Linked DNA regions of Homo sapiens: all the other regions are linked to region 1. Evidence: promoter capture Hi-C in 16 types of primary human blood cells and fetal thymus (Javierre and others, 2016). All regions are on one chromosome and are shown on one strand. The core of a region is centred on a gene start or on the middle of the fragment in contact, and the rest is flanking DNA. Distances in the headings are between cores, read along the strand shown.

Region 1 (3,299 bases), core at 245-2,744:
CTCAAGGTCAGGCTGTGTTTAGCGTGTTCCCCAAGTGTGGGAGGCCAGGAGCAGGGGTGGGTTGTGGAATCCGGGATGCCACGGTTGGAAAGGCCCCTACAAGACCCAACTCAGCAGCCCTTAACCCCTCATTCCTGCTCGTAGGGCCCAGGGACAGGAGGTGGCCTCTATCACAGCAAAGCCAGGACTGGCTAGGTGGGCCGCACCTTCTGCAAAGCAACAGCCTCCAATGTGGTCTCAGCTAGGGGTGGTGACTGGGGACTTCTGGGCATATAAATACAAACAAACCACATGGCTTCTGATCACAATTTGACACAAATGCTAGAGAGACACAGATCTCAGCCCGTAACCTCACTGTGGGCTCATTCTTGTAGACACAGAGCCTAGGACTGGTTCTTAGCTGTGTAATCACAAACAACCCACAACTTCTAGAAGCCTGGGTTTCCTCTTCCTTAAAGTGGGAGACAGAGTATCACAATCCTATATCTCCAATCCTTGAGGCCAGATGCATGTCAGAGTTCCTGATTTGGGGGATTTTTAGAAAGGTAATGGGGTGCAGGTATCGTGTACTATGTAACCCACGCACCCGCAGCAGCCCTCCTCAGTCAAACATATTAATATTTCTGCAGTGACTGTAAATATTCAAATTAAGCAGGAGACATAAAAACCACAGGTGAATTCATGCCAGATCAGGTCAGGTTTTGCCACTAAATGAATAAATTATCATTTTTTTTTAAGTTTTCATTCTGAGGCCAGGTGCGGTGGCTCACGCCTGTAATCCCAGCACTTTGGGAGGCCTAGATGGATGGATCATTTGAGGTCAGCAGTTTGAGACCAGCCTGGCCAACATGGCAAAACCCCATCTCTACTAAAAATACAAAAATCAGCCGGGCGTGGTGGCAGGTGCCTGTAATCTCAGCTACTAGGGAGGCTGAGACAGGGGAATAGCTTGAACGTAGGAGGCGGAGGTTGCAGTGAGCCGAGATCGTGCCATTGCACTCCAGCCTGGGCAACAGAGCGAGACTTCATCTCAAAAAACAATAATAATAATAATAATAAAATAAAGTTTCCATTTTCAGAGGATTCTGCATTCAGAGTTATTAGCCCTTTAATGCTGTGCACCTCATAGGGTTGTTACCCACATCAGCGTCACGTAAGATGCTGTGGAGGAAAGCAGTTTCAGAACAATCAGTGATGACAGCTACTGTGAATCCACTATTCAACAGGCGCCCCATCGCTTGCTCATGGGCTCCTCACCATAGCTCTAAGCCACAGGAGCTATTTTCATACCCCATATAGGTCCATCCTATAACACAGCCAGGACAGAGACGAGAGACTCAGGCCTCCTGACTTGGATTCTGCTCTTTCACCTCCTTGTTCATCCAATTAGAGAAACTGGCAAAAAGGAAACTGAAAGTGACAGCTGGAGCCCATGATTTCCTGGAAGAGCCCTAGAGCTTTGCTTTTTCTCTCCTGCAGCACTTAACCGAAACCAGTTTTGCAATCAATTCCTGTTCAAAGGCCACCCTACTCTTCCTATCCGTCTTTCTCCAGCCCAGACACTCACAGCCCCCTGCCAGACCAGGGGACCTCGGAGAGGCAAGGACAGAGGTTCAGGATCTTCCTCTCCCTCGGGACCCAAGGCCACAAAGGAGAGCTCCGTGGAGAGAAGGTGAGACGGCGGGCAGAAGTCGGGGGAGGAGGGGGCTGCCGCTCTGGTCCCTGAAGGACAGAGCCCCCAAGGGGTTGGCTTTAGGCACCTGACTCAGGGAAAAGAGCTGCTGTGAAAGCAGCGGGGTTCAAATGCCAGCCAGAGCTTGAGGAGAGTCTGAGGATTAACTTCTCCTGTGTTAATCCTGGTAGGTTTCCCTCCCTTACAGCCATTTCAGGGTTAAATTGAAACATGCTAAAGCATGCGATGTGACTAGCCAAGTTGCATTTGTCCCTCCACTGCTGGGGATCCGAGGGCTTAGGCAGAGGGGACCTGGCCCTTAGAAAGCAGATGATTACATCAGCCACAGGCGTTTCCCTAGAAATTCAGTAGAGGAGTGGTTTAGGGGTGTCATCTCACAAGAAAAAAGGTGCTGGGTGAGTTGTCTAGAAACTGCAAAGCCAACCTACAGAGTTTTCTAGATTGTAGATTTATGTGAAGTTGTTTGGGGAAGAGGGTGAGGGAGTTTGTGATAAATATTAGGGCGACTAGGCCAGGCGCAGTGGCTCATGCCTGTAATCCCAGCATTTTGGGAGGCTAAGGCAAGCGGATTGCTTGAGCCCAAGAGTTTGAGACCAGCATGGGCAACATAGTGAGACCCCGTCTCTACAAAAAATCAAAAAATAGCTGGGCGTGATGGTGCACACCTGTAGTCCCAGCTACTTGGGAGGGTGCTGAGGTGGAAGGATCACTTGAACCCAGGAAGTCAAGAATGCAGTGAGCAGTGATCGCACCACTGCACTCCAGCCTGGGCAACAGAGTGAGACCCGGTCTCAAAAAAAAAAAAAAAAATCTAGGGAGGTTATCTTGAAGCTGTGTTTTCAAAGTAAGCAGATTTTTCTTACTTAGATTGTGTATCTGCAGAAGTTGGTTTTGTGGGGGAAGGCAGGTAAGGAAAGACTGTCATAAATATCCTGTAAGCTTTCAAATGAAAGTAAGTTCTCAAATCCTCTTCCAATAAACCTCTCACAAGCAAATCCTCTCGCAACCACCAAGAGCAGGTCAGAGGGGATGGAATGGGACCTGCTTAGATGAGTTTCCTGCTGTTACCTTTGCCCTGCATCCCATAGGACTAATGTAAAAAAATGAGAGAGGTATTGGCGGACGCTGGTAAAAAATGGGGTTCCAGACCAGAGTCTCTTACCCCCAGCAACCTTGTCATGTTCAACCAGGTGATCCCTGGTTGTGGGGGCTGTCCTCTGCATCGTAGGGTGCTTGGCAGCATCCCTGGCCTCTGCCCTCTACATACCAACAGCAGTACCCTCTCCAGCTGAGACCATCAAAAATGTTTCCAGATATTAGCAGTGTCCCTGAGGAGCAAACACGCCCTGTTTGGGACCAACTACTCCAGACTCTGCGTGGCTGGAATTGCACAGGCTTTCCTGCTTACTGTGTGACACTGGCCTCCCTATGTCTCAGTTTGCACCTCTGTAAAATGGGCATCATCTTAGCACCGATCTCACTGGGTCACTGTGTAAAGCAGGTAGATGTATGTCTGGTGAAAGTAAACTCTTAAAGGTGCCAAGCCCCCTAAACCAAACCTAGCTTCACATACCAAAGAGGGGAGAAGGTTTTTATCTTTGAAGCA
Region 2 (3,299 bases), core at 455-2,954, 320 kb after region 1:
CTCTAATTTTGAAATTGTTACTCCTCACTCTCCCTAAATAATGACTAAATATGGACCAGGGCTTCATTCTCTGGCTCAGATGCCCACTTTGCATTCTAGAGAAGTAATTCCTTCTCAGAGCCATATTTGATAGCTGAGCACTGAATCAACGCAGTGGCTATGTCCTATGTGACTCTGAAGGACAAAGTATCAATTGTGACCAAGTAATAAGGGCTCCAAGCAGGTCAGAGCCTTGTAGTAGGAAAGGGAGAAAAGGAATGAAAAAAATAAGGCACACACAGGAAAATTGTATTTTCAGTTTGCAAAGCAGAGACTCAACTCCAGGGCACCAACTCTCCAGCAAAAAAAAAAAAAAAAAAAAAAAAAAAAGACAGGAAAGAAGAATAATTTAGTATAATAACAGTCATCTACCCCACAGAAAACTTAAACAATTTAGAACAATTAGAGAAGTCAAAAGAGTCAAGATGCCTCTAGTTAACACACAGGCATCTAGAAAAAGCTTTATAACTGTTGTGGAAAACAGCAAAGGATGAAGCACATGCTAACAACTGAAACCCACATTGCAGTGCGGGGTGGGGGACAATATGATTAGCCCATCTCTGAGATATTTGTTTTCTTATTTCGCTCCTTGTTGACCTTAACAAGCCATTCCTTGTGTGAAAGCATTCCTATGGACACCATGGTTCCACTGGCTAAGTATTAAGTATGATAAGCACTAATAATTAATTAGTATTAAAAGCACTAATAATTATTAAGTATAATAAGCACAGTCACCTTATTCTACAAGAGGGAGACTAAAGCAGTTTCTGAGAGTGCCCATCAACTCAATTACTAAACTTGACTTATTATGAAGAAATCTATCAGCAATGGCCTAGACTAAGTGGAAAGTTGCAAAACAAAGCTCCATTTATCTACTCTTTGACTCAAACGTACATTAAGAGCACTTATTACGTTCCAAGAGTTTTATATGTGTCATCGCTATTTCAAAAAAATAAAAACACCAACACTAGTATATATTCTTTTTGTTGTTGTTGTTGTTGTTTTTGCAATGGAGTCTCACTCTGTCGCCCAGGCTGGAGTGCGGTCGTGCCATCTCAGCTCACTGCAACCTCTGCCTCCCGGATTCAAGCAATTCTCCTGCCTCAGCCTCCTGAGTAGCTGGGATTACAGGCAAGCGCCACCGGGCCTGGGTAATTTTTGTATTTTTAGTACAGATGGGGTTACACCATATTGGCCAGGCTGGTCTCGAACTCCTGACCTCAGTCGATTTCCACACCTCGGCCTTCCAAAGTGCTGGGATTACAGGTGTGAGCCACTATGCCCTGCCTAGTATACATTCTTACTCCACTTTGCAAACACAGAAACAGAGTTCCAGTGATGTCAAGGTGACCATGGTTATATACTCATTATTTCATTTTTTTTAAAAAGCCAGGATTCTAACCCAGATCTGTTTGGATTCCAAAGCCTGTGCATTTTTCCACTTAGCTTCCTATTTTCAGATAGTGAGGGTTGGAAAAAAACATCTAGAAATCATTTTACATCTGTGTTCTCTTATGCCATCGATAAAATATAGGACACTTGACATCAAGGTCAAAGTCATACTTTTTATGTATTACTAACAGTATTAAACTCTAAGTAGGCACTCAATACTTATTAATTTATTATTCTAATCCTATTATTCTAAACTTCTGGACAAACGGCAATGATTCTACTCAGATCTTTTTAAATTAAAATTGGCTTGAGAAATTACATGCTGAAATGAAATGACAAAACTTCAGATAACATTCTGGAATTAATTTCATAATATTTGAGATGAAAAAAATTATCACTGTCATAATGCCTACACTGGCCCAGTTATAATGTCATAATACCTACACAGTCTATTTGTTGGTTTTAATCCACAAACCCTAATGCAGTCAGGATCTATACATTAGATTTATGATTTCTACATTCCACATATAGAACCAGAGCATTTCTTCAGGGATTCCACTAAAATTAAATCAGCTGATTAGAGGACCATGCTAAAGAGGCCAAGGTCACGTGTCTGCTACCCATGTGAACCAGTTAGCATCATTCTCTCCTACAGCCACAACATACACCCTGTTGTAAACATATATCCTTTTTTACTCGGAAATTAAGGCAAACAATCACCTTTTCTGGAAAAAAAATGTATCTACTGATGTCAAATATTATAATCAGATTTTATTCTTTAGAAAATAGTTATTGTCTTTCAAATAATATTTTCAATCATCCATTCTTTCTTCCAATACTTACTGAATACTTACCACACACCAGTCGATAATCTCAAAAGGCTGGCCCCAAAGAACAAATAAATAGAGCTATGCGTGGTATTCAATATAGCCAAGGTGTATATAGGTATGGTGACAGCACACAGAAGGAAAGGCTACTTTTAGAAGATGCCATGGAGAATGAGCAGGAGTTCATTTAAGTAAATGAGGAAGGTAAGAGCATTCCATGGAGGGAGAACAAAGATTTACAAAGGGATGGTCATAAGACAACATAACAAACTTGAACTTTGAAGAATTTTACTAAGGCCAGGTTCAGAATTGAGAGATATGACCAGCTAAGAGAAGGCAAGGCAACATCTTTTAGATTTTCTACCTAACCCAAATTAGGTTTTCCTAAAATGCCTTACTTTGAGTTAGATTTCCACAGAGTAAAAGGGGGGAAAAAAATTAATATTATGGAGATTTGTTCTCCTCATAGTCTCCATGATAAGAATAATGGCCAAAATGAGGTACATCCTTCTGAAAATGAAGCTGTTAGTGGCTGAGACCCTCAATGAAGAGGTTCTTTTGTCTGCAGAGCAAAATCCAAATCTGCTGCCTTATTAGGTAGAATGAAAATGTCCTTCTTATTCTTGGAGAATTAGTTTAAAAAGTGGTCAATGAAGCTTATTCATCAATTCTACTTTCCTGTGGCTGTTTGAAACAGCATGTTGAATATCTGACAAGCAAATTTACATTAACTTTAAAAAGCACCTTCATCCCCACATAACACCCCAACACATAAACACAAAAATGTATGTGCACACTCACATCCTACAAGCTCGACAGGAAAAGGATCAGTATGTGTATGAAGGGAAAGCTATCTATCAGCTGTAGCAATCACAGAACGCAAGTAGAAGAAAGTAAACTTTCTACCAAAGCGATTACATATACAGAAATAGGCAAAAAACCTAAGTGCATAACTCAATGAATTTTCACAAAGTGACCATCCCCCCGCCCCCTGCCATGTAACTAACACCTAGGCCAAGAAATAGGACATTACCAGCACTA
Region 3 (3,299 bases), core at 357-2,856, 310 kb before region 1:
CACTAATGCTATACTTTTTGAAAAAATCGACTACCCATCTGATTACTGTCCTCCTGCCCAGCCACTTCCCCAGCAGAATCAATGGATAGCGTTTTGACTGTTCTCTAACGCTCACAGCAGCCCCAAGAGGGGTGAGTAAACTAAAGCTGGGAAGAGGAAGCCGCTTGCCCAAGGCCCCACAGCCAGCAGCAGGTGGCCTGCCTCGCGCATTCCCCCACCCACACGTGCCACTTCCCCAGCACCAAGCCCTGGGTCTGGCAGCAGGTAGCTCAGCAGCAGCTCACACACAAGCTTGTGGATGGGTCTTTCACGTGGCCTTTCTGTCCCTGCAGACCTGGGCTCCAGCAGTGTGAGAGCTGGCCTGCAGTCTCTGGAGGCCTCTGGTCGACTGGAAGATGAGTTTGACATGTTTGCGCTGACACGGGGCAGCTCACTGGCTGACCAACGGAAAGAGTGAGTGGCCTGGCCCTGCCCTGGTCCCCTGCAGTTCGGGTGGCTCTCGGGGTTCTGGAACCCGGTTTTATGGTGGCACACCATGAGGAAGGGCACACGGACCCTGCTTAGTAAGCACGCCCTTAGTATCCCCTAAGTCAGTCCAGCATGGCCTGGGAGCCCTGTGGTCAGTTGACAGACTGCGCTCCCCACAGGCCATGCTGGGTGGGGGAGGGGGAGCCTAATGACCCACTGTATGCCAGAATCTTACATAGTCTGATCAGAGGGGGAAACTGAGGCACAGAGAGGGGCAGGCTCATTTGCCCCAGGTCAAGGAGCTAATATTTGGCAGCACTAGGTTAGGAGCCTAGGGCTGTCTGGTTCCAAAACACAGTGTCTCCACCCCCCGCCCCCCTCCCTGCACTGTGTACCGCATAGTAAGCCCTCCAGGAGCAGGGAAGTTTCCTGATAAATCCTCAGGGACTTTCAAGTCAAGTCTTTTTCTGTTGTTCCATAGCCACCGTTAATTTCCAGAGAAGATTAAGCAGGTTCTGTCAGCCTTGCCCCAGAGCTGGGGCTCTGCCCTTCCCTGTGCACCGTGCATTTTCAGGGGGTACTTTCAGCAGCATAGGCACGTGGCCTGAGTGTGTCCACCAGGGTCTGACCCCTTGCCGGGACCTGCGGGAGAACTGGCCCCGTACAGGCTTGTAAGAGGAACAGTCTGCTTGATGTTTTCTTCAGCCTTTTGCCCACTGTGACCCCCAGGGCTGAGCTGTGGGCAGCCAGGATTCTTATAGCTAAGGAAAGTTCTAGATTATGGGATCTTCCCACTGACCCCACTCAGCTCCTTAGAGGTCATTCTGGTGTCTTTTGGAACTTTGTCAATGGGCCTCCAGAGAGCCCAGGGATAACCTCTCCACACCCACAAATCCAGGTCCAGGCTGTAGCCTGCTAGGTCCTTAGGGCTGCCCTGGCTGTTAGCTGTATCTTTCTTTAGTCTGGGCAGAGTCTGTACTTTTAAGCCCAGGTACCCTGGGACCAGCAGCTGTTGCCATGGAGTTAGGGGTGCTGCCGAGGCTACCCTGCAAAGGCAAGCTAATGAGTGTGATGGGACTTGCAGCCAGACACGCCCATCCACAGAGGCCCCAGCAGGCAACACTGCTGGCCATACTGGAGAACCCTGGCGCCTGCCCTGGTCACCAGCCTGGCTGAGGTATGCTGTTGCGCTGTCCTTCCTCTGGGGAGCAGGCTCCGGGGGACAGGGAAAAGCACACAAGGAACTTGTCCTCTAGGGCCTGCAGTCTCATGGGAGAGTGACATGCACCAGGACCACCGCTGTGAAGGGCTAAGTGCTGTCCTGGAGGGGGCACCAGGCTCTGTGGACACAGAGGAGGGAGCATGCAACTCTGCGGAGGGTACTCAGAGCTGGACCAGGTGCTGGGTGATAGGAAGGCCATTTCAGGCACTAGGAACAGCATGTGCAAAGTCTCAGAGGCAGGGCGGGAGAGAGGTGCCCTGGCTCCCGCACAGCAGCTGGGAAAGATGCTCTTCACACAGGGAAGGGGGCAGGATGCTGAGAGGGTGGTGGGGCCCACTGGGCTACAGAGAGGCAGTTGATTTTATTCTAACATGAGCAGGAGGGAGCACAGGAAGGATCTTTTTTCTTATCAGATTTTCATCTTTGAAACTGCCTTCAGCTGAGCACAGCTGAAATGACATCATGCACCTTCTCAGGCCATTGGTTCTCCTGCAGGCCCTCCCCAGGGCTTGGTTTCCACCCTGGCAGAAAACATCCAGCAAGGTCAGGCGTGGACCTGAGCATCCATTTCGTCTTCCCTTTGTTCTCCTGCCTGGCTGGCCCCCTTAAATGCTTCTGGTGGATCTTCCAGCTCTGGTCACCTGACTGGCCTTTTCTGCCAGCTTGGTGTCCAGCCCGCTCCTCCCTGTACCTGCCTGGCTCCCCACTTCACACCAGCCTGCAACCAGCTCTGCCCTGGCTGGCAGGGAAACCAGCTCCTTATCAGCCGCTGTTTCTGCTCCAGCCTTGACCACAGCTGGCACCGTCACAGCCTTCCTGCAGCCAGTCCTATCCACTCAATGCCAAGGAGTAGCAGGGCTTCTGGGCGAGCCACAGCAGAGACGCCTCGGCTAGGCCTTCACAAAGGCAGGGGTGTCCTTCCCCCGCTTTGTCCGCATCTTCGTCAGTGCTGCTGTACACAGAGGCCTTCTCTACAAGGAGCACTTAGACAAGTGTCACCCCAGTGGCCCAGGTGCAGCCCCTGCCCACCAGCCCCACTGGGACCACCTAAGGAGTGACCCTCCACCCTCCTGCACTGGGCAGGGGGCAGCAGGCCCTAGCCCAGGGGTCACCACCCAGTGCAGGAGGTGCGGGCTTCCTCCAGGGAAGTGCTTGGCCCTCCACCACCACAGGCATGGCCTTCAGGGACAGCTGGGCTTCAGGGCCATGTGTGGGCAGGGGTGGCGAGGAGCTAAGCTTAGGAAGGGCAGATAGTTCTTTTTTTTTTTTTTTTGAGCCGGAGTCTCGCTCTGTCTCTCAGGCTGGAGTGCAGTGGCGCTTGCAGAGTGCAAGCTCCACCTCCTGGGTTCACGCCATTCTCCTGCCTCAGCCTCCCGAGTAGCTGGGGACTACAGGCGCCCACCACCACACCTGGCTAATTTTTTGTATTTTTAGTAGAGACGGGGTTTCACCATGTTAGCCAGCATGGTCTCGATCTCCTGACCTCGTGATCCGCGCGCCTTGGCCTCCCAAAGTGCTGGGATTTCAGCCACTGCACCTGGCCCAGATAGTTGTTTTGAGTGAAGGGAAATCATGGGTTTCTGCGTGTTCTGGGGCTGGGCATGGCTTC
Region 4 (3,299 bases), core at 543-3,042, 290 kb after region 1:
CAAGAATTGGACAAATACTCTCAAATCTGAAAGGCCTGCAAATAGGTGACTATTGATTATCAACCATCCTAGTTTTTGTTTTTTTGTAGTTGTTGTTTTTGTTTGTTTTATGTTTTGTTTTTGAGACAAAGTCTCGCTCTATCACTCAGGCTGGAATGCAATGGTGTAGTCTCAGCTCACTGCAACCTCTACCTCCCCAGTTCAAGCAATTCTCCTGCCTCAGCCTCCCGAGTAGCCAGGACTACAACTGCATACCATCACACCCAGCTAATTTTTGTATTTTTAGTAGAGCCGGGGTTTCACTATGTTGGCCAGGCTGGTCTCAAACTCCTGACCTCATGATCCACCCACCTTGGCCTCCCAAAGTACTGGGATTACAGGCATGAGCCACCGCACCCAGCCGACCATCCTAGTTTTTAAGATCCACTTCAGGAGCTCTGATGAGATTCAATGAACTTCTGGAAAGGACACTATGAACTCTTTCGTTTAGCACTGTAACTCATATCTCCTGGACAAGTATAACAATGGTAGCTTTTTTTGACAACCCTGTAAGGAATAATGGCATTCCAAGATATTTCTAGGAGCTACCCTTTCAAATCTCCTGAAGAACGTCAATATCCCCAAACATCAAAGATACAAATTTCTTTCAGAGGCGAGGTGATTTAAGCCACACCATTTCTCTAAGAGGAAGCCTTACCTGTTCTTCTATCCTAACTCTGTTTCAACGTCATGGGCTCAAGTATTCAAACAACAAAAAGATAGGGAAGGCATTTTACACACTTGCCTAAACCATACTGAGGGTGTCTCGTAGGAAGCAATTCTGCTCTGACCCATAATAGGGCCTGGGCTTTTCCAGTCATCCTCCCATCTAACAAAGAAAGGTGGCAGAAACTTTGCTTTCTCAGGCAAGCTTTCCCTGATTAAAACCATAAGGCTGAATTCCCCCAGGGAGGAGAATGGAATTTTCTTGCTACAGATCATTACAAGGACTCAAAAACTCTGTGCAGGCAGGGGCTAACTGGCAGGTAATAAAGAGACAAGTCCAGCATTCAGAATTATAAGGCATCAAGAAAACCAGGTCAAAAAATTATTATGTAGCCTGGAGAAGAAAATACAAAACCAATCATGACTGTGCTTGAGTGATTATTTTCTCTTCTAATATCCACAATTTTAATAACATAATACTTATAGAATTTAAAAATATGCTTAATTTACATCTGTAAAAGTAAATTCACTGCTGAAACAAGCCACATTTCCTTTCAAAGTAAGTAATTTCAGGAAATGCTCTCTATCATAGCAACCCTTTGATGAAACACACCACACACATACATCATCTGAGTTACAAACAGCAGATACCAACCTGGCTGTCCCGCGCTGGGAATCCATGATAACCTGGAGTCAGAGGCTCGTTCTATGAGAAAGACAAGAAAAATATCAAACCATGAGATGAAAGAAAATGTTAGGCATAATCAAAATCATCCAAACTGATCAAATATAAATTCCTGCCCTGGTTCCTAAAATGTTCCATTAACTGTATTCCACCCTACCTAAGTGTATATATCTCCTCGTTAAGCCTCTACACTGGCAAAAACAAAAAACAGTATTTGCTTAGGAGCACTATTCATAAAAACTATTTCTTCCTTATGCAGCTAAATCTGTTTCCTTTCCAGTATATCTTAGGCAGGGTGCTACTGCGACTGGGGTCAGAGTTAATTCCTAACTTCATCATACACTGTGGGACTTCAGCATCCCCAGCCCCAACTCACACTAAGCCGTTAGCACCCCTAAACACTAGGATAACCAAAAACTTGTTGGTTTATTTCCAAATGTCCCCTGGATGGAAAGGGGACAAGTACCAACCCTGCTGAGAACTGCCTCTTAACCCAGAAAAGTTTTAGGTCTTCGTCTCTATCAGCCTGTTTCCCCTCAGTTTTTACTTTTTTATTTATTTATTTTTTGTTTTATCCCCTCAGTTCTTTGAAATCTGGATGAAATCTGACCTCTGTTCAAGACTTCCTCTACTACTCTATATCATCCTATGGACTCAAGTGACTCCTCCTAATATTTAATATTTACTTAGCTTACTTGTGCAGCTTACTTTTTATGTTACTTATGATTCTAATTAACCTTATTTTTTAAAGGTATATCATGTTGAGTATCTGTCTCATTTTCACTTTAAACCACTAAGTCAAGATCCTTGAGGGCAAGGATGATAGCTAATAAAAGCCATGCAAACCCTAATTTAGTATAAGGTCATATAACATGAACACTCATTTCCAGCTTACTTGACCCATTCAATCATTCAGTTAATATATACTAATATTAATATTTTCCAAGCACTGTTAGTCGACTGATGGAGTAAAAAAAGATGAATTAAAAATAAGGCCCTTGCTTTCAAGGGAACTTTTAAATGAGGGAAGATGCACGTGCACACGAAGGAGTAAATGAGAACATACATTGCTTTTGTAATTTTCAAAGTGCTCAACATTGCTACTTAGATATTCATCCTCTTCTTCCATTCACTGTACTTTCATTCCTACTAGCAGAACAGCGTAAAAGAAATTTTCATTGATAGGACTTTTGAATATAACAATAGAGTAAACTTTCCACTAATTGGTAGGTTGACTATATTCAGATATTTGATAGTCAAAAGCATGGAAGTCTGAAGACAACTTAAGCTTACTGCAGAGACCCTGTGTCTTGTTCATCATGGTTTCCCTGAGATCTAGCACAGTATCTAACACATGTAGACACCCAAAAGAATGTGTAATAAATAAATGGAGCTAAATAACCAGAAAATGTGTAGGAATTCAGACAGTTCTGCAAAAGAGATGTGCAAATGGCCAGTAAGTACATGAAGAGATGCTCAACATCATAAGTCATTATGCAAATCAAAACCACATTGAGATAAAACTCACACTCATCAGAATGGTTATAAACAAAATGCCAGACAACAATAAGTATTGTCAAAGACATGGAGAAATCAGAATTCTTCTACACTGCGGGTGGGAATGTAAAATGGTATAGCTGCTCTGGAAACAGTTGGATAGTCCTTCTATTAAACATAGAGTTATATGACCCAGCAATTCCACACCTGGGTATGTAACTAAGAAAACTGAAAACATATGTCCACACAAAATAATATACATGAATGTTCATAGCAGCATTATTTCATAATAACCAAACAGCAGAAAAAAACCAAAATGTCCGTCGATTGATGAATGGATAAATGAAGTATGGTACATCCATAGTGGAATATTATTCAGTAATTTTAAAAATAAAGTACAGATACAACACAG
Region 5 (3,299 bases), core at 559-3,058, 290 kb before region 1:
CCAGTGGGTCAGAGTCAGGTTGGCAGGGCACTTGGACCTCTTGAGGCGGGTGAGAAATGTGCAGACAGGGAAGTGGAGGCCCAGGGAGGGGAGGGGCCTGCCCTGACCAGTGTACTGCCTCCCTACCTGGTGCAGGGGCCCAGGAGGCTCTGTGTGCCAGCCCAGCCTGCCCGGGGAGGAAGCAGCCCCCACCCACGCACAAGCACAGGGAAGTCAGTGCAGGGTGGAGGGTGGGGACTCCTGGGGCCCCCTGTGTCAGGTCCAAGCACGGCCCAGGAGTCAGCCAACCGAGCTTCCAGCGGTGCACAGACACTGACTTCCTGTTTGATTTGGAGCAAGCCTTCTCCTCTCTCTGGGCCTCAGTTTCCCCATCTGTTAATCGGCTTGATTTAAGAGAGCGTAAGGCCCCTTTGCACTCTGCTTTTCTGCCCTATCAACCCCCAAATTCCATAATCCTCCTTCCAAAAAGGAAAGAAATACGAGGAAAGAAACTCAAATATCTACAAGAGAGGGAAGCAGGACCCCGGGTTTATCTCCCCTCCAGGACCAGCGGCGATAGGGAAACAACTGCCCAAGCTTCAGTGGGACCAATGGGTGGAGGCGGCCACCCACACACCCTGCTGAATGCCCGCACAGGAAGCTGACCGCCTAGGGGCAGGAGGGAAGCGAAACCCAAGCCGGGGACATCCTTGCACCTGCCCTGGGGTACCCCTAGGAAAGGGAAAAGCAAGTGGGTGAACTGAGGAATGGGGGTGCTGCCCATGCTCCCCACAGGACCCTGCCCTCACTGGAGCCCTTGGAAGCTCTGTTAAAAATGAATCTTCAGCCAGGCGCAGTGGCTCACGCCTGTAATCGCAGCACTTTGGGAGGCCGAGGTGGGTGGATCACCCGAGGTCAGGAGTTCAAGACCAGCCTGGCTAACATGGCGAAACCCTGTCTCTACTAAAAATGCAAAAATTAGCCAGGCGTGGTTGTGGGTGTCTGTAATCCCAGCTACCAGGGAGGCTGAGGCAGAAGAATCGCTTGAACCCGGGAGGCGGAGGCTGCAGTGAGCCGAAATCGCGCCACTGTACTCCAGCCTGGGCAACAAGAGTGAGACTCCATCTCAAAAAATATACAAATTAAAAAAAAAAAAAAGAATCTTCATTTTACAAAGGAGGGGGTGAGGTCAGAAAAGTCAACTAGCTAATCCAAAGCCACACAGCCGGCAAGTGGAAACATTGAGTCCTCTTTTCTGGGGAGAAAAGGTCCCTGGGGGATCAGGATGAAGTGCACTCTATTCTGGGCCTGGGGCTGCGCCTAGGTCTGCCTTGGGGCTAGAAAAGTCACTGTGTACATTATCTGTATGAGTAGCCCTGAGCCCTGCAAGCCACTTAGGCTGCAGAGGCCACTGGACCCCTGCAGGGAGAAGGCTGGCTGCTGAGATGGGGCCCTCCCTCAGGATCCCTTCTCAGGCCCAGACCAGTGCAGAGACTTGCCCAAGGCCACACAGCAAATTTGTAAAAGAACTGAAACTAGAATCCCGGTCCTCCATAGCACCTGCCCCGCAGGAGGTGGGCGAATGGAGGACAGCTGGGAAGTCTGTCTTCAGAAGGCCCTCCCCAGCACCCTGCACCGTGCTCTGGGCTCCCACAGAACTTTCAGCCTCAGAGACCAACTAGGCCAGTGGGTTCTAAAACCTTCTCTCCCCAAGGAAATCTTCTATCATGGTCTCTCCCCAAGACTATGGATTTAGAAGAGTTTTGTTTGTTTTGATTTTTGGCCACAAAACATTCCACAATGCATTGAGTTGTTAATATTTTTCCCTTTTGGGCATCAGTAATCAAGACTTTTTTTTTTTTTTTTTTTTGAGACAGAGTCCCGCTGTGTCCCCCAGGCTGGAGTGCAGTGGCGCAATATCGGCTTACTGCAACCTCCGCCTCCCGGGTTCAAGTGATTCTCCTGCCTCAGCCTCCCAAGTAGCTGGGATTACAGACACATGCCACCACGCCTGGCTAATTTTTGTATTTTTAGTAGAGATGGGGTCTCACCATGTTGGCTAGGCTGGTCTCGAGCTCCTGACCTCAAGTGATCCACCCACCTCGACCTCCCAAAGTGCTGGGATTACAGGTGCGAGGCACTGCGCCCGGCAGTAATCAGACTTTTAATACACCAATGCAGTATCTCGTTCCATCCAAAAGTGCTCCAGTTGCCTGGGCAGCCTCATCTGAGGGAACTAACAGCACAGCCTCTGTTTGCCCAGCCCCTCTGGGCCCACCCACTGTTTGGAGCAGAACCCCAACCCAAAAGGGCAGGAGCTGAAGATAGCCATGCTCACTGCTGGCCAGGGGCTCCCCCACGGCTCCTGCCAGCCTTGGCCTTCACACGCATTGGGCATCTCCATCGACGGCCACCCTGGCTTCTGCACCGTCCCCACGTAAACATGGCTCTGCCCTCCCATCCCCTCACCTCAACTCTGCAACACAGGGACCCAGGAGACAGAGGCAAGGAAGGGAGAGTGAAGGAGCTGGCCATACCCTCCTGAAGTGCTAAGGGGAGGGAGGAGGGGATATCAAATTCGATGTGAGATTAAACTTCAAGACTGGACTTTTTTTTTTTTTTTTGAGATGGGATCTCATTCTGTCACCCACGCTGGAGTGTAGTGGCGCTATTTCGGCTCACTGCAGCCTCTGCCTCCTGGGTTCAAGTGATTCTCCTGCCTCAGCCACCCAAGTAGCTGGGATTACAGGCGTGTGCCACTATGTCTGGCTAATTTTTGTGTTTGTAGCAGAGATAGGGTTTCATCATGTTGGCCAGGCTGGTCTGAAACTCCTGAGCTCAAGCAATCCACCCACCTCGGCCTCCCAAAGTGCTGGGATTACATGTGTGAGCCACTGCGCCAAGATTGGACTTTTTTGTACTTGAAAATGACAAGAAAGTTAGCAAAACCACCCAAGATGTCACAAAGGACCCTGGTGGAGGCTGGGCATGGTTGAAGACAATGGTTGGAGAAAAGGAAGCTCTCTCATGTCCATGTTTGTGCACAGGGACTTTGGATCTGCAAGCTTGGGGAGGGAGCTGGAGACAGCTGGACTGCTCTGCTCTTAAGAGGGAGGTGAATCCTACCGGGCCATCTGGAAGAGGGCCTGAGAGCACAGAGACAAGAACGGGGAAAGGGAAGAGAGAGAAGGCAGGAGAGGGTGAGCTACTGGGCCCCAGGCAAAGAGTTGGGGGAGGATCAGAGGTCAACTACTGGGGTAGAGGGAGGGAAGGGAGAGGAGTAGCCAAAAAAGATTCGGAAGAACAGATGCTGTATTAGA
Region 6 (3,299 bases), core at 216-2,715, 270 kb after region 1:
ATTTAAAGATTGCAACGCCTCTTAGCATTTTCTTACCAGCCACTATAGTATGGCTCAGGAGTCAGAAAAACCAGGGTTCAAATCCCTATTCTACCACTTATTCTATGTACGACTTTGGCAAATCACTTAATGCTTTTAAGGCTTGCTGTTCTCATGTGGAAAATGAAGAGGAAACTCCTAGCCAAGTACTTGGCACATAGTCTTCCATAAATACCAGTGCCCTTAACTCTTCCACTCCTTTACCCTATGACAGTGGTTCTCAAGTTGAGTGTGTATAAGAATTACCAAAGCATGTTAAAACAGATTACTGGACCCCATCCTCAGAGTTTCTGATTCAGTAAGTCTGGGGAAGAGGCAGAGACCATGAATAAAGGTAAGTTCCCAGGTGATGCTGATGCGGCTGGATTTGAAGCCACACTTTGAGGATACTGCTCTAGGCAATAAGACTTACAAAGTCTTCTTACAACATGTTATACAGGTATGAAGTGCTCTTTCACATCAAAAGTATTTCAGGAATACATGCTCACTGGATACTGAATTAAATTAGAAGCTAATACTGCACATCCACCCAAAAGGCCAACCTTACAACATGGGATAATTCACCCCAGCACATTGAGGGAATTGGTCTTCCACTTAAAGCAGTCAGCAAATAACAATTATTAACACTGCATTTAGAATATTCTGGTTCCAGCATGGGAGAAAACATGAGAATGCAGACACAGATCAGACAAATGAAGAGATGGACAAGAGAATCCACTGCAAGAAGTTCTGTGCCTGTCTGGTAAATTCATCTGGGGCAGAGGGGCAGATTCTGTTGTGTCACAGAACACTTGCTTTGCTCTGGGTGCCCTCTGTTGACAAAAACTGACATAGCCACTTCCTTCCCTCCCTTTTCTCCTCCCACCCTAGGGCCAAGAGTCCCACTAGTGTGACTCAGACTTGAGGCAAGGTTTCCAGTTAGAAAATTTTCCTAAGCCCATATGTAGGCAAGACAGACCTTTCCTTCCTCCAGCTTTCCTAAGTCCCCTTCTCTGTGTGCTTGTATCTGCAGCTTATCTCCAAACAGGTTAATTGTTTCAGGACCATGGAACAAAAAGTGAACAGCATTTAGCATAATGATATGTGAAATTTAAATCACAATTGCATTTCATTTTAGAAATGGCTAGTATTCACACAGAGGGAATAAACTGAGTTTGTAAATAGTGTCAAATACAATGTGAAACTCTGTTGGTATTAAGAATACTGATAAGGCCGGGCATGGTGGCTCATGCCTGTAATCCCAGCACTTTGGGAGGCCATCGCGGGCAGATCACGAGGTCAGGAGTTCGAGGCCAGCCTGACCAACATAGTGAAACCCCATCTCTACTAAAAATACAAAAATTAGCCGGGCATGGTGGCTAATTTTCCAGCTAGTCAGAAGGCTGAGGCAGAAGAATTGCTTGAACCTGGGAGGCAGAGGTTGCAGTCAGCCAAGATTGCGCCACTGCACTCCAGACTGGGTGACAGAGCTAGACTCCATTTCAAAAAAAAAAAAAACTAGACATGTCTAAATCAGGACTTTGGTCTATGGGCTACTTGTTTTTGTAGAACCCACACACAGACTACCAGCTAAGATAGCTTTTACATCTTGTAATGATTGAAAGAAAAAATCAAAAGAAAAATGACATTTCATGACATATAAAAATTATATGAAATTAAAATTTCGGTACCCACAAATAAAGTTTTACTAGAATAGAGCCACAATCTTTTGTTTACTATAATCTAAGCCTGCTTCCCTGCTACCGTGCCAGAGTTCCTGAGTAGCTCTAACAGAGACCATATGGCCCAGATGCTCTCAGATGCTTTACAGAAAGTTTGCCCCCTCCTGTTTTAAACTATTGATAAATGTGACACCTGAACCTTCAGTCAGGTATGAAGTGCTGGGTTTGAAGTCCTATGGCTCTGTCTTAGCAATGACTTCCCCCAACATTTAGTGTGAGTCCTGCACGTGGTGAGGGGTCAGCCTACACTGCCTAACACACTCCCCTTGCATCCACAGAAGCTGAAGGTACTGTGATAGATTTCTGGCATGTTTTTTGGCTAATACTTATCAGCAATCCTATAAAAGCATCCCATCTTACAAATGAGGAAGTAAGCCTAAGGGAAGTTAAGTATCAGTCCAAACTGGAATTTGAACTCAGGTCTGTCTGACACCAGAGTTCTTTGATCATTCCTCACTGGTTTTCAAACTGTCTTCCAGTCAGCAGAGCCTTATGGGGGAAAGGGCTCCAGGCCTTTCATATCTTTTTTTTCTTTTTTCTTTTTCCTTTTATTTCCCCAACTTCTTACACTTCCATATTGTTTTAGAGATAGGGTCTTTTGTCGCCCAGGCTGGAGTGCACTGGCACAGTCAGCTCACTGAAGCCTCGAACTCCTAGGTTCAGGCCATCCTCTTGCCTCAGCCTCTAGAGTAGCTGAGACTACAGGTGCACACCACCACATCTGGCTAACTTCCAAATCTTTTCTAGGAGGACCATTCCATTTGCCTTTTTAATAAATTGTGGCCAAGGAATTGGTTTTTTTTAAAAAGCCAATTTTATGCCACTTATTACCACCCTTGGCAAATCTCTCAGGAAACTGCAAATCTTGATTTCCTCATCTGCCAATGGAGATTAAAACCCTTCCCCCCCACCCAAATAATAAAGACTCACTGGGGTCTTACCAAAGATCAAATGAGAATGGGTATGAAAGCAATACCCATTACAGGTATTACAGCAATACCTGTAAACTATACAGGACTATAGATACATAACACATAACTATCACCCCTTAGTAAATAGGGAAGCAAGTGGGAAGCAAGTGGGGAACATAATGTTTGCTGCTGAGCAAAGAAAAATTAAGCATGCAAGTAAAATGCAAAAAAAAAAAAATTCAAATAAAAGTAAATAAATGCCCAGTGCAAATATCAACCCTGGAATTTAACACATTTATTTTAAAACCCAGATTCACTCATTAACAACTACATAGCCTTGGACAATGACTTAATCCCTTTGAGCCTTGGTTTCCTCACCTGCAAATGGGATTTAAAAACTACTTGCTTTATACAGTGCCTGCACATAGTCAGTATTCCACCTGTTAGCCCTCTTTTCATTAGGACACCCCCTGTCCCATGCCGAGACGTGTGTTACTCTGAAATTAAGATAATGTATGGGTTCCCTGTACCAATAATAGAATACCAGAATTAAAGAGCTAAAAGTATCTTTATCTTAAACGATCCTGTGATCCACACGACACCACAAAGCTTGTGAGAGCACAGGCTA
Region 7 (3,299 bases), core at 230-2,729, 270 kb before region 1:
GCAACCTCTGCCTCCTAGGTTCAAGCGATTCTCGTGCCTCAGCCTCCCAAGTAGCTGCGATTACAGGTGTGTGCCACCACTCCCCATTCATTGATTAAGGATTATTTTGAGCTGGCCAGGCGTGGTGGCACATGCCTGTAATCCCAGCACTTGGGGAGGCCACTGTGGGGGGATTGCTTGAGCTCAGGAGTTCCAGACCAGCTTGGGCAACGTGGTGAAACCTTGTCTCTACAAAAAATACAAAATATAAAAAATTTGCCAGGCATGGTGGTGCATGTCTATAATCCCAGCTACTTGGGAGGCTGAGGCAGGAGGATTGCTTGAGCCCAGGAGATTGAGGTTGCAGACCACTACACTCCAGCCTGGGAAACAGAGTGAGACTCTGTCTCAAAAAAAAGGATTATTTTGGGATAAAGGCACTTTAAAAACAAACAAACAAAATCAGGTGCAAAAAGGTTGCTGTGGGTTGGGCATGGTCGCTCAGGCCTGTCATCCCAGCACTTTGGGAGGCAAAGGCAGGCAGACCACCTGAGGTCAGGAGTTCGAGACCAGCCTGACCAACTTGGAGAAACCTCATCTCTACTAAAAATACAAAATTATCCGGGCGTGGTGGCGCATGCCTGTAATCCCAGCTACTAGGGAGGCTGAGGTAGGAGAATTGCGTGAACCTGGGAGGCAGAGGTTGCAGTGAGCCTCTGACCTTCTTTTTTTCTTCCTGAAAGCAAGAGATGAAATTCCATATGGAAGACTTTTCTCTATACGAGGAGAAAATTAGCATTCCTTTCATCCATGGCAGGAAGTTGAAGCCAAAATAAATCTGTACAAACAAAGCTTGTTAAAGCCAGCTCTTCCTAGTCTCTTCTCTACCCAGTTAACCACCCTAACCCACACCCACGCCACTTTGCCTTGTCACGTTTTCACAGTTTACTACTCTGTGTCCAAATCTGCATGTAAGTGTTTGGCTCTGTTTCCTTGAGTCTTCTTTTCCTTAGGACGGCTCACGTGTTATGTAAATGTACGTTAAATAAATGTGTATGCTTTTCTCCTACTAATCTGTCTCATGTCAGTTTAATTCTCAGGCCCAGCAGAAAACTCTAAAAGGGTATAGGTAAAATTTTGCCTCCTCTACAATATAATGAATTTATATCGAAGCCAGATTTCCTGATTTTTATAACCATATGTCAGGGACTGCACTCCAGATATAATACATGCTAAATAATTTGGGGGTAGATAGGCATGGTGGCTCACACCTGTAATCCCAGCACTCTGAGACACCAAGGCAGAAGGACTGCCCCTGACGTCAGGAGTTGGAGTCCAGCCTGGGCAAAATAGCAAGACCCCATCTCTACTAAAAATGAAAAAAATTATCCAGGTGTGGCGGCATGAGCCTATAGTCCTAGATACTCAGGAGATGGAGGCAGGAGGAGATATATATATCTGTATATATTCAAAAATATATATGCATAGTATATCAAGAGAGAATACGATAAAGCAAATGTGACAAAATGCTAACAACTGGTGAATCTGGATGAAGGTGTATAGAAATTCTCTGTACTATGCTTGCGACTTTTCTGGACATTTGAAATTATTTCGGAGAAGTTTACTTTTTGAGGAAAAGGTAAATACAGGCCGAGCGCAGTGGCTCACGCCTGTAATCTCAGCACTTTGGGAGGCCAAGGCAGGTGGATCACCTAAGGTCAGGAGTTCGAGACCAGCCTGGCCAACATGGTGAAACCCTATCTCTACTAAAAATGTACAAATTAGCTGGGCATGGTGGTGCATGCCTGTAATCCCAACTACTCAGAGGCTGAGGGAGGAGAATCGCTTGAACCCAGGAGGCAGAGGTTGCAATGAGCCGAGATAGTGCCATTGCACTCCAGCCTGGGCAACAAGAGCGAAATTCCATCTAAAAAAAAAAAAGGTAAATATGAAGAACCTGAGATTCAAAACTCCTGACTGAAATCAAGGTTTGTTGGATGTTAGTGACCCCCGCCCTACTGCAGAATCATCCAGAAATTTCTAGATAGGAAAAAGGCTCTGGCTGAATCATGAAAGGGGAGCTGGATGCCTCTCTGACCAACATAACGGTTAACATTTACCGTGTGCCTCCTCTGCCAAGCCTCACTGTAAGCTTCTTACATGCATCAAACTGATTTCATGCTCACCACATCCCCTTGAGTCAATGCTGTTATTATTCCTCATTTTGTCAGATGAGGAAATAAAAGCTTAGGGTGTTCCAGTGTACACAGATGGGAAGTCATGGATCCTGGATTTGACTGCAGTCCTTTTGCCTAGAGTTTATTGCTTTAGCTAGTCTATACTATCCTAATGGTACCTTGATCAGGTTGAACCAGGGCATACCAGATCTGGGAGGTATAGTCAGGCTCCATTTTGGCAAGACTGGCCTGGTAGTCTGCATCCTTCAAAGGCTAGAATGCCTTCTTGTCTGGCTGTGGGTCTTCGGTCACTGGGTACGTGCTAATAGAGGCTGCACGATGTTTGGAAAAGATGTTGCCATTCTATGCCCTTTGCTGCCTCGGGCCCAGGGGCTCCTAGGGCAGCGATGCTGTGGAATCTGAGTGAGCCAGACACACTTGGCCTCAAATCCCGGGTGAGCTGTGTGATATTAGGCAGGGAATTTCACCCTGCTTGCTAAGCCTCGTTGATTAAATATGTAGTGAAAGCCTGGCTTGTGCTAAGGGCATAAGAAGGTGAATCTGACATGGCCCTTGCTGACTTCAAGGAGCTCACAGTCAGGACGGAGGTGGGGGCAACTGGGGCCCCTGGAGGGGTCCATAATGTGAGGAGAAGAGCTTCAGGAAAGCCTGTGTAGAATCTGTTTTACAGCTTCATGAAGATATAATTGGCATACAATAAACTGCACATATTTAAAGTATACAATTTGATGAATTTTGACACAACTTATAACCTGTGAAAGCATCTCCACAATCAAGATAAAGGGTGTATTCATCACTCTCAAGTTTCCTAGTACTCCTTGGTAATCCCCTCACTTCAACTAGGTAACCAGTGATCCAATTAGACTAGCTTGCATAATTTTCTAGAATTTTATATAATTCTATATACATTATGCGTATGTGTGTGTGTATTGCTTTGGCGAGCTCTTTTATTAGGAATGTTCATCTTTTGTCTGTTATATGTGTGGCAAACACTTCCTTCCAGTCTGTTGGTAGGGTTTCAACCTTATTTATGGGGTGTTTTGGCATCAGAAGGGTTCGGTGTTTTGCACTTCAGCCTATGGATTTTTTTCTTTTTCTTTTTTTTTTTTTTGAGATGGAGTC

What was found. The method cuts DNA at HindIII sites, captures the fragments that hold promoters and counts their contacts. A CHiCAGO score of 5 or more calls a contact.
Region 2: a fragment that was not itself captured here is called in contact with the fragment with the promoter of APOL6 in region 1 in 4 of 17 cell types (M1 macrophages, M0 macrophages, M2 macrophages and 1 more); the score reaches 7.2 in M1 macrophages.
Region 3: a fragment that was not itself captured here is called in contact with the fragment with the promoter of APOL6 in region 1 in 1 of 17 cell types (M0 macrophages); the score reaches 6.2 in M0 macrophages.
Region 4: a contact is called between a fragment that was not itself captured here and the fragment with the promoter of APOL6 in region 1, in 6 of 17 cell types (M2 macrophages, M1 macrophages, M0 macrophages and 3 more). The highest score is 12.5, in M2 macrophages.
Region 5: a contact is called between a fragment that was not itself captured here and the fragment with the promoter of APOL6 in region 1, in 1 of 17 cell types (M0 macrophages). The highest score is 7.6, in M0 macrophages.
Region 6: a fragment that was not itself captured here is called in contact with the fragment with the promoter of APOL6 in region 1 in 11 of 17 cell types (M1 macrophages, M0 macrophages, M2 macrophages and 8 more); the score reaches 24.9 in M1 macrophages.
Region 7: a fragment that was not itself captured here is called in contact with the fragment with the promoter of APOL6 in region 1 in 1 of 17 cell types (M0 macrophages); the score reaches 5.7 in M0 macrophages.

Annotation. Positions count from the first base shown.
Region 1 is chr22:35,646,952-35,650,250 of GRCh38, forward strand. APOL6 (apolipoprotein L6) reads left to right here and starts at 1,495. Exons shown (of 3, transcript NM_030641.4): 1 at 1,495-1,672. RefSeq lists an enhancer at 1,200-1,499. The HindIII fragment of the contact is 8,876 bases long and covers 1-2,630 here.
Region 2 is chr22:35,962,719-35,966,017 of GRCh38, forward strand. All of the region lies in intron 1 of RBFOX2 (RNA binding fox-1 homolog 2), which reads right to left. Among named protein-coding and RNA genes, the nearest start is that of RBFOX2, 64 kb to the right of the region's middle. The HindIII fragment of the contact is 2,415 bases long and covers 498-2,912 here.
Region 3 is chr22:35,333,996-35,337,294 of GRCh38, forward strand. It overlaps TOM1 (target of myb1 membrane trafficking protein), which reads left to right. Exons shown (of 15, transcript NM_005488.3): 11 at 333-453. MIR3909 (microRNA 3909) reads left to right here and starts at 1,645; the gene lies at 1,645-1,763. MIR6069 (microRNA 6069) reads right to left here and starts at 2,804; the gene lies at 2,726-2,804. RefSeq lists an enhancer at 2,820-3,299. The HindIII fragment of the contact is 2,635 bases long and covers 290-2,924 here.
Region 4 is chr22:35,937,487-35,940,785 of GRCh38, forward strand. It overlaps RBFOX2 (RNA binding fox-1 homolog 2), which reads right to left. Exons shown (of 14, transcript NM_001349999.2): 2 at 1,361-1,411. Among named protein-coding and RNA genes, the nearest start is that of RBFOX2, 90 kb to the right of the region's middle. The HindIII fragment of the contact is 1,768 bases long and covers 909-2,676 here.
Region 5 is chr22:35,352,856-35,356,154 of GRCh38, forward strand. No RefSeq gene overlaps it. Among named protein-coding and RNA genes, the nearest start is that of MIR6069, 18 kb to the left of the region's middle. RefSeq lists enhancers at 1-319, 263-322. The HindIII fragment of the contact is 2,468 bases long and covers 575-3,042 here.
Region 6 is chr22:35,921,050-35,924,348 of GRCh38, forward strand. All of the region lies in intron 2 of RBFOX2 (RNA binding fox-1 homolog 2), which reads right to left. Among named protein-coding and RNA genes, the nearest start is that of RBFOX2, 110 kb to the right of the region's middle. The HindIII fragment of the contact is 3,625 bases long and covers 1-3,278 here.
Region 7 is chr22:35,373,078-35,376,376 of GRCh38, forward strand. No RefSeq gene overlaps it. Among named protein-coding and RNA genes, the nearest start is that of HMOX1, 6.4 kb to the right of the region's middle. The HindIII fragment of the contact is 1,300 bases long and covers 830-2,129 here.